Linked DNA regions of Homo sapiens: region 1 is linked to region 2. The links are contacts of gene promoters, found by promoter capture Hi-C in blood cells and fetal thymus (Javierre and others, 2016). All regions are on one chromosome and are shown on one strand. The core of a region is centred on a gene start or on the middle of the fragment in contact, and the rest is flanking DNA. Distances in the headings are between cores, read along the strand shown.

Region 1 (3,212 bases), core at 702-3,201, 700 kb before region 2:
GGAATGGGGGTTTAATTGGGGAATGCAGCTAAGAGGTAAGGTGGCAGCTCTCTACGTGAAATAGGCTAGGATACAGACATCAGCGTCAGACCTGGGGATCCAGTCCTGGTTCCGCCACTTAGGCACCTAGTGGCCTTGGGCAAGTGGCATAGCCTCTCGGGCTCAGTTCTGTTCCCTTGTAAGCAAGGACAATGCTATCTACCACCTGGGGATGGTGATCAAAATAAAATCATTTCCATAAAGTTCTCAGCACAGTGCTAGGCATGCTACAAGCAACCAATAAAGACAACTATGATGGCCATCTTGCAGGGACTCAGCACTGCACACTTGTTATGTGTTGACACGTTCTCAGCTCACTTGGGCTCCACAACAATCCTGCAAGGTAGGCAGGGAAGATTTCTACTTTATTCATTCATTTATTTATTTATTTTTTGAGACCGAGTCCCACTCTGTTGCCCAGGCTAGAGTGCAGTGGTGCGATCTTGGTTCACTACAACCTCCGCCTCCCAAGGTCAAGCAATTCTTTTACCTCAGCCTCCCTAGTAGCGGGGATTACAGGCACATGCCACCACACCCAGCTAATTTTTATATTTTTAGTAGAGACAGAGTTTTGCCATGTTGGTAGGGCTGGTCTCAAACTCCTGGCCTCAGGTGATCCACCCACCTTAGCCTCCCAAAGTGCTGGGATTATACGTGTGAGCCACTGCACCCGGCCGGTTTTTAACATTCTTTCTCATTTTACACACAAGGAAAGTAAGGCTGCGAAGAGGTATGCAACTGGTTTGTTTTGGGCTACAGTACTGGTCTCTCAGCCCTTCAAATTTAGAGTTTTCCCCCAGTATACGTTGCATTGAATGGTAATGGCTAACACTGAGTTCAGTGCTTAGCAAACAGGCCATTCATTAAACATAGACAGACTTGCTGCCTGTTATTTCCCTTTTGGGGGCCAGGGAAATTGTGACCTTGGTGGCTCGGTCACTTGCCACTTGCCACGTCCTCAGGGAAGGATGTAGAAGGCATTGAGGGAAACTGACTATACCTCCTTCACCCCCACCTCCCTTCCTCCATCGGTCAAGTTGCCACGGGCACAAGCCCAGGAAGGGCAGGGGGATGTTAACAAACTTCAGACACGAAGAGTCTGAGCATCTATAAACAGCAACGGAAGAAATGAAATTGGCTGCGTCCTCTAAGCCTGTCCCCGCAGCATGCTGGAGGAGGGTCGCGGGGGACATGGAAGAGGAGGAGCTTTGGAGAGAGGATGCTTGTGCTCCCCCGCCTTTTCTTGCTATTTCTATTTGGGGGTTGGATTCCTGGGAGCTTCATCACATTTGGTTCTCAGCTGACTTTATATACTAAAAAATAACTTCCTTTCGCCTGACCATGGAGAGGGACTGCCAGGGGTGAAGGCAGCCCTGTCTGAGGCCAGAGGTCTGCCCACGTGGCGGATGAGGCAGGTGTGAGGCCAGCTTGAGCATCTGGATCCATTTGTCTCGGGCTGCTGGCTGCCTGCCATTTCCTCCTCTCCACCCTTATTTGGAGGCCCTGACAGCTGAGCCACAAACAAACCAGGGGAGCTGGGCACCAGCCAAGCGTCACCCTCTGTTTCCCCGCACGGGTACCAGCGTCGAGGAGAAAGAATCCTGAGGCACGGCGGTGAGATAACCAAGGACTCTTTTTTACTCTTCTCACACCTTTGAAGTGGGAGCCTCTTGAGTCAAATCAGTAAGAATGCGGCTCTTGCAGCTGAGGGTCTGGGGGGCTGTTGGGGCTGCCCAAGGCAGAGAGGGGCTGTGACAAGCCCTGCGGGATGATAACTTTAAAAGGGCATCTCCTGCTGGCTTCTCACTTGGCAGCTTTATCACTGCAAGTGACAGAATGGGGAGGGTTCTGTCTCTCCTGCGTGCTTGGAGAGCTGGGGGGCTATAAAAAGAGGCGGCACTGGGCAGCTGGGAGACAGGGACAGACGTAGGCCAAGAGAGGGGAACCAGAGAGGAACCAGAGGGGAGAGACAGAGCAGCAAGCAGTGGATTGCTCCTTGACGACGCCAGCATGAGCTCCTTCTCCACCACCACCGTGAGCTTCCTCCTTTTACTGGCATTCCAGCTCCTAGGTCAGACCAGAGCTAATCCCATGTACAATGCCGTGTCCAACGCAGACCTGATGGATTTCAAGGTAGGGCCAGGAAAGCGGGTGCAGTCTGGGGCCAGGGGGCTTTCTGATGCTGTGCTCACTCCTCTTGATTTCCTCCAAGTCAGTGAGGTTTATCCCTTTCCCTGTATTTTCCTTTTCTAAAGAATTTGCTGGACCATTTGGAAGAAAAGATGCCTTTAGAAGATGAGGTCGTGCCCCCACAAGTGCTCAGTGAGCCGAATGAAGAAGCGGGGGCTGCTCTCAGCCCCCTCCCTGAGGTGCCTCCCTGGACCGGGGAAGTCAGCCCAGCCCAGAGAGATGGAGGTGCCCTCGGGCGGGGCCCCTGGGACTCCTCTGATCGATCTGCCCTCCTAAAAAGCAAGCTGAGGGCGCTGCTCACTGCCCCTCGGAGCCTGCGGAGATCCAGCTGCTTCGGGGGCAGGATGGACAGGATTGGAGCCCAGAGCGGACTGGGCTGTAACAGCTTCCGGGTAAGAGGAACTGGGGATGGAAATGGGATGGGATGGACACTACTGGGAGACACCTTCAGCAGGAAAGGGACCAATGCAGAAGCTCATTCCCTCTCAAGTTTCTGCCCCAACACCCAGAGTGCCCCATGGGTGTCAGGACATGCCATCTATTGTCCTTAGCTAGTCTGCTGAGAAAATGCTTAAAAAAAAAAGGGGGGGGGGCTGGGCACAGTGGCTCACGCCTGTAATCCCAGCACTTTGGGAGGCCGAGGCAGGCGGATCATGAGGTCAAGAGATCAAGACTATCCTGGCCAACATGGTGAAACCCCAGCTCTACTAAAAATACAAAAATTAGCTGGGTGTGGTGGCGGGCACCTGTACTCTCAGCTACTTGGGAGGCTGAGGCAGGAGAATCACTTGAACCCAGGAGGCAGAGGTTGCAGTGAGCAGAGATCACGCCACTGCAGTCCAGCCTAGGTGATAGAGCGAGACTGTCTCAAAAAAAAAAAAAAAAGGCCAGGCACGGTGGCTCACGCCTGTAATCCCAGCGCTTTGGGAGGCCAAGGCGGGTGGATCACGAGGTCAGGAGATGGAGACCATCCTGGCTAACAC
Region 2 (3,202 bases), core at 573-3,072:
CCAGCCTGCCCAACATGGTGAAACCCTATCTCTACTAAAAATACAAAAATTAGCTGGGCGTGGTGGCGGGCGCCTGTAACCCCAGCATCCCAGCTACTTGGGAGGCTGAGGCAAGAGAATCGCTTGAACCAACATGGAGAAACCCTATCTCTACTAAAAATACAAAAATTAGCTGGGCGTGGTGGCGGGCGCCTGTAACCCCAGCATCCCAGCTACTTGGGAGGCTGAGGCAAGAGAATCACTTGAACCCGGGAGGTGGAGACTGCAGTGAGCCAAGATCACACCACTGCACTCCAGCCTGGGTGACAGAGTGAGACTGTGTCTCAGAAGAAAAAAAAAAGGTAGATCCCCAGTTATGTCCTCTTGAGATGCAAGAACCCATGATTCGGTTTTACAGCCCACATTCCCATGCCCTTGCCACCTAAGATTTTGTGTGTTACCTTAGATAGATGTTAAAGTTTTGGATGCCATACATTTCTGTCTTCGATGAGAAATTGGATAATACCTCCTCTCAAGCCATTCAGTTCTGGGAAAATGCCCTTCTTCAGCGAATTTCTCTTTTCATCCCTGGAATTTAAGTGAGACAGATAACTTCTGTAGCTAGTTGGGGTGCCCTAAAATAACCCTAAGCTCCCAAGTCCAGAGCTCAGTCCCAAGGGTTGTTTCTCTTCTAGTGCATTGACAAGGCCAGGGACCTGCTGGATGCTGAATTAACTGCGATGGCAGGAGAGAGTTACAGTCGGGCATATGGGGTAAGTGTCAACTATTCTGCACATTGTCATTTTTGAGGCTTATTTCCATACTTTTTTCAGAATGGGCTATTGAGAACTTACAGGCTGCTGGAAACATGCCTGTTTTCTCTGATCGGCAGATACCCTGACACCAGAAGGAATGATTTAAATTAATCCTGTCTTTTGGATTGTTCGTGCAGTAATTAGTTTGGAATGCGATTTGCTTCCATCAGGCCATGGTTTCTTGCCACATGCTGTCCGAGCTGGAGGAGGTTATCCAGTACAAACTTGTCCCCGAGCGACGAGAGATCATCCGCCAGATCTGGTGGGAGAGACTGCAGGTGAGCTTGGTAGAAAGCCCCAGTTCACCCACCTACCCCTACCCCTTCCAGGACCTGGGTGAGTGCCCCCCTCCACCCTGGCTCTTACTCAACTTGCTTTTCCTGCCTCCTCCACCAGTGTATTGCTTGGCTTGCATACAAAGCAGAATACTCAAAGGCTCCTCACCTAAACTTAAGCTGTGAGAGAATGACCAATTTTCCAGTCTCTTCTTATTCTCTTCTCTAGGAATTAAAAAAAATGTTTTTTAGTAAGTGACACCTGTGACCAGTCAGTTAGGAATCATAACCTCAAAATCAGTGGTTCTCAACCTTAGCAGCACAGTAGAATCACCTGCAGAGCTTTTTAAAATCCTGATGCCCAGGCTATTCCCCAGGCCAATTAAATTTCTGGGGAGAGACTCAGGATCAGTATCTTTTCAGGTTCCCCCAGATGATTCCACCAGCCAAAGCTAAGAACCACTGCTCTAACTACACTTGGAGGCCACCTGCACCAGCTTTTCAGATGGGGTTGCCTTAGGTTCTCATTGGCCAACTCCTGCTATTTATAGCTACTTAGGTCAGAGTCATCCTGTCGCCTCTATTGAGACTTTTTTTCCACTGCAGTTTCCGCTTGTAGAGAAGAAGCTTTCCCAAGTCCTCCATCAGTGTTTTCATTCTCACATTCTGATCATTTTAACATGAGAAACTGTCACTCCAGGTCTGGGAGTCAGGAGTCTAAATGTTCTGGGAAGGATGGCCAGTTATCCCATTCCTTGAGTGGGTAGGATAGGAAGTTCATCAGCAAAAGAAAAAAGAGAGAAAGCCTTTACCACTCCAGAAACCATTTGTCTCCCTACCTATCATAATCCATCCCCGCAATTATAAACCATTTCCTCTCAACTAGATCCCCACCTAATTGCTAATTCCAAATTCTCGCTTCAGACCAATCGAAGTTTGTGCTTCCAGGCGTCTCAGTAGGCTGCGACAAAACCTTTTGACTCCAAACACATTCCTGCCTAGGAAGCTCAGGGCACATTCCCCTGGACAGGAAAGAGCAATGGGCAAAGGAACATCTATGAATACAGTCATTTATGGCTCTGAAATGAGCACATACAGTTCTTTTACATGTTTTATTAGTAATTATGAAATGCCCAGTGAATGTTTTGATGGAAAATTGTCTCCTGGGCACCAGAAAGAATTCCACAAATAAGCATTTCCCACTTGATTTGTACACACCCCAATTCTTTGAAATGCCTATAATAAAGAGTTTCTACAGCAGAGATCTGATGAACCTTCTGACAGTCTGACAAGTGGGACTTGATCCAAATGTAGACTTAGAGGAGAGGGGAGGCATGGAATGAGTCCTGGGAAGAGAGATGCCTGTCTGACTTTACTGGGTCCAGGACACTGCCACCACCTTAAGCCTTCGTGACTTTCCTATCTTGAGGCAGCAAGATGCTTTTTGGCTTACAGGAGGCCAAATTATTTCAGCATCTGGGAGAACCTAACTATTGGTGAGAAGTCACAAAAAACAATCACTCAGTGTACTTTTTTCTGTTATTTTAACTTTCGAAATCATTGTTGTCACACTTCATGGGATGGAAAAATGTGGTCCAAGGCCTGAAAGTAAAGCATTACATTTATAGTGGAAATTTGGCTCTTGTGGATGGCTTGCTGTCAAATGAACTGCTGGGGCTAGAAAACTGCCATTTTGTGGTCAAATCATTTAAATTAAAATCCCCAACCAGTATTATAGTAGTGGAAAAATACATGTTTGTTACTTTTCTTTGGAGTTGCACCAATGCTTTTGGTTCCTAAGACCCTCCCATAGGGCAGTTAGAGAGGTCAGCCTTACTGGCGCTGGGTCTCTTCTAGCCTTGGGTTCTCCAGTCAGGCTCAGACTGCATCTTATCATAGCTAAAAGCCTGAGATCATTGTCGCTAGACTTTTAAGTTTATCTCCATGGAGGACAGCTCCATGGGTTCATGGAATTTACCATGAAGCAGTAGATCTCAGGAACTCCCCTTCTGAGTCTGACTTCTTATCAACAAGGATGAAAAAGGAGTTCACTTGGCCAGGCATGGTGGCTCACACCTGTAATCCCAGCACTTTGGGAGGCTGAGGCAGGTGGATTGCTTGAGGTCAGGAGTT

Evidence for each region. Contacts are between HindIII fragments. The CHiCAGO score rates a contact against its expected background, and 5 or more counts as called.
Region 1: a contact is called between the fragment with the promoter of NPPA here and the fragment with the promoter of MTOR-AS1 in region 2, in 5 of 17 cell types (total B cells, total CD4 T cells, naive CD8 T cells and 2 more). The highest score is 9.0, in total B cells.

The regions. Positions count from the first base shown.
Region 1 is chr1:11,846,522-11,849,733 of GRCh38, reverse strand. It overlaps NPPA (natriuretic peptide A), which reads left to right and starts at 1,951. Exons shown (of 3, transcript NM_006172.4): 1 at 1,951-2,172; 2 at 2,295-2,621. The coding sequence starts at 2,050. It also overlaps NPPA-AS1. RefSeq lists an enhancer at 1,125-2,915. The HindIII fragment of the contact is 12,440 bases long and covers 1-3,212 here.
Region 2 is chr1:11,142,518-11,145,719 of GRCh38, reverse strand. MTOR-AS1 (MTOR antisense RNA 1) reads right to left here and starts at 1,822. Exons shown (of 4, transcript NR_046600.1): 1 at 1,733-1,822; 2 at 834-1,053; 3 at 441-567. MTOR (mechanistic target of rapamycin kinase) reads left to right here. Exons shown (of 58, transcript NM_004958.4): 33 at 675-752; 34 at 965-1,072. The HindIII fragment of the contact is 11,786 bases long and covers 1,699-3,202 here.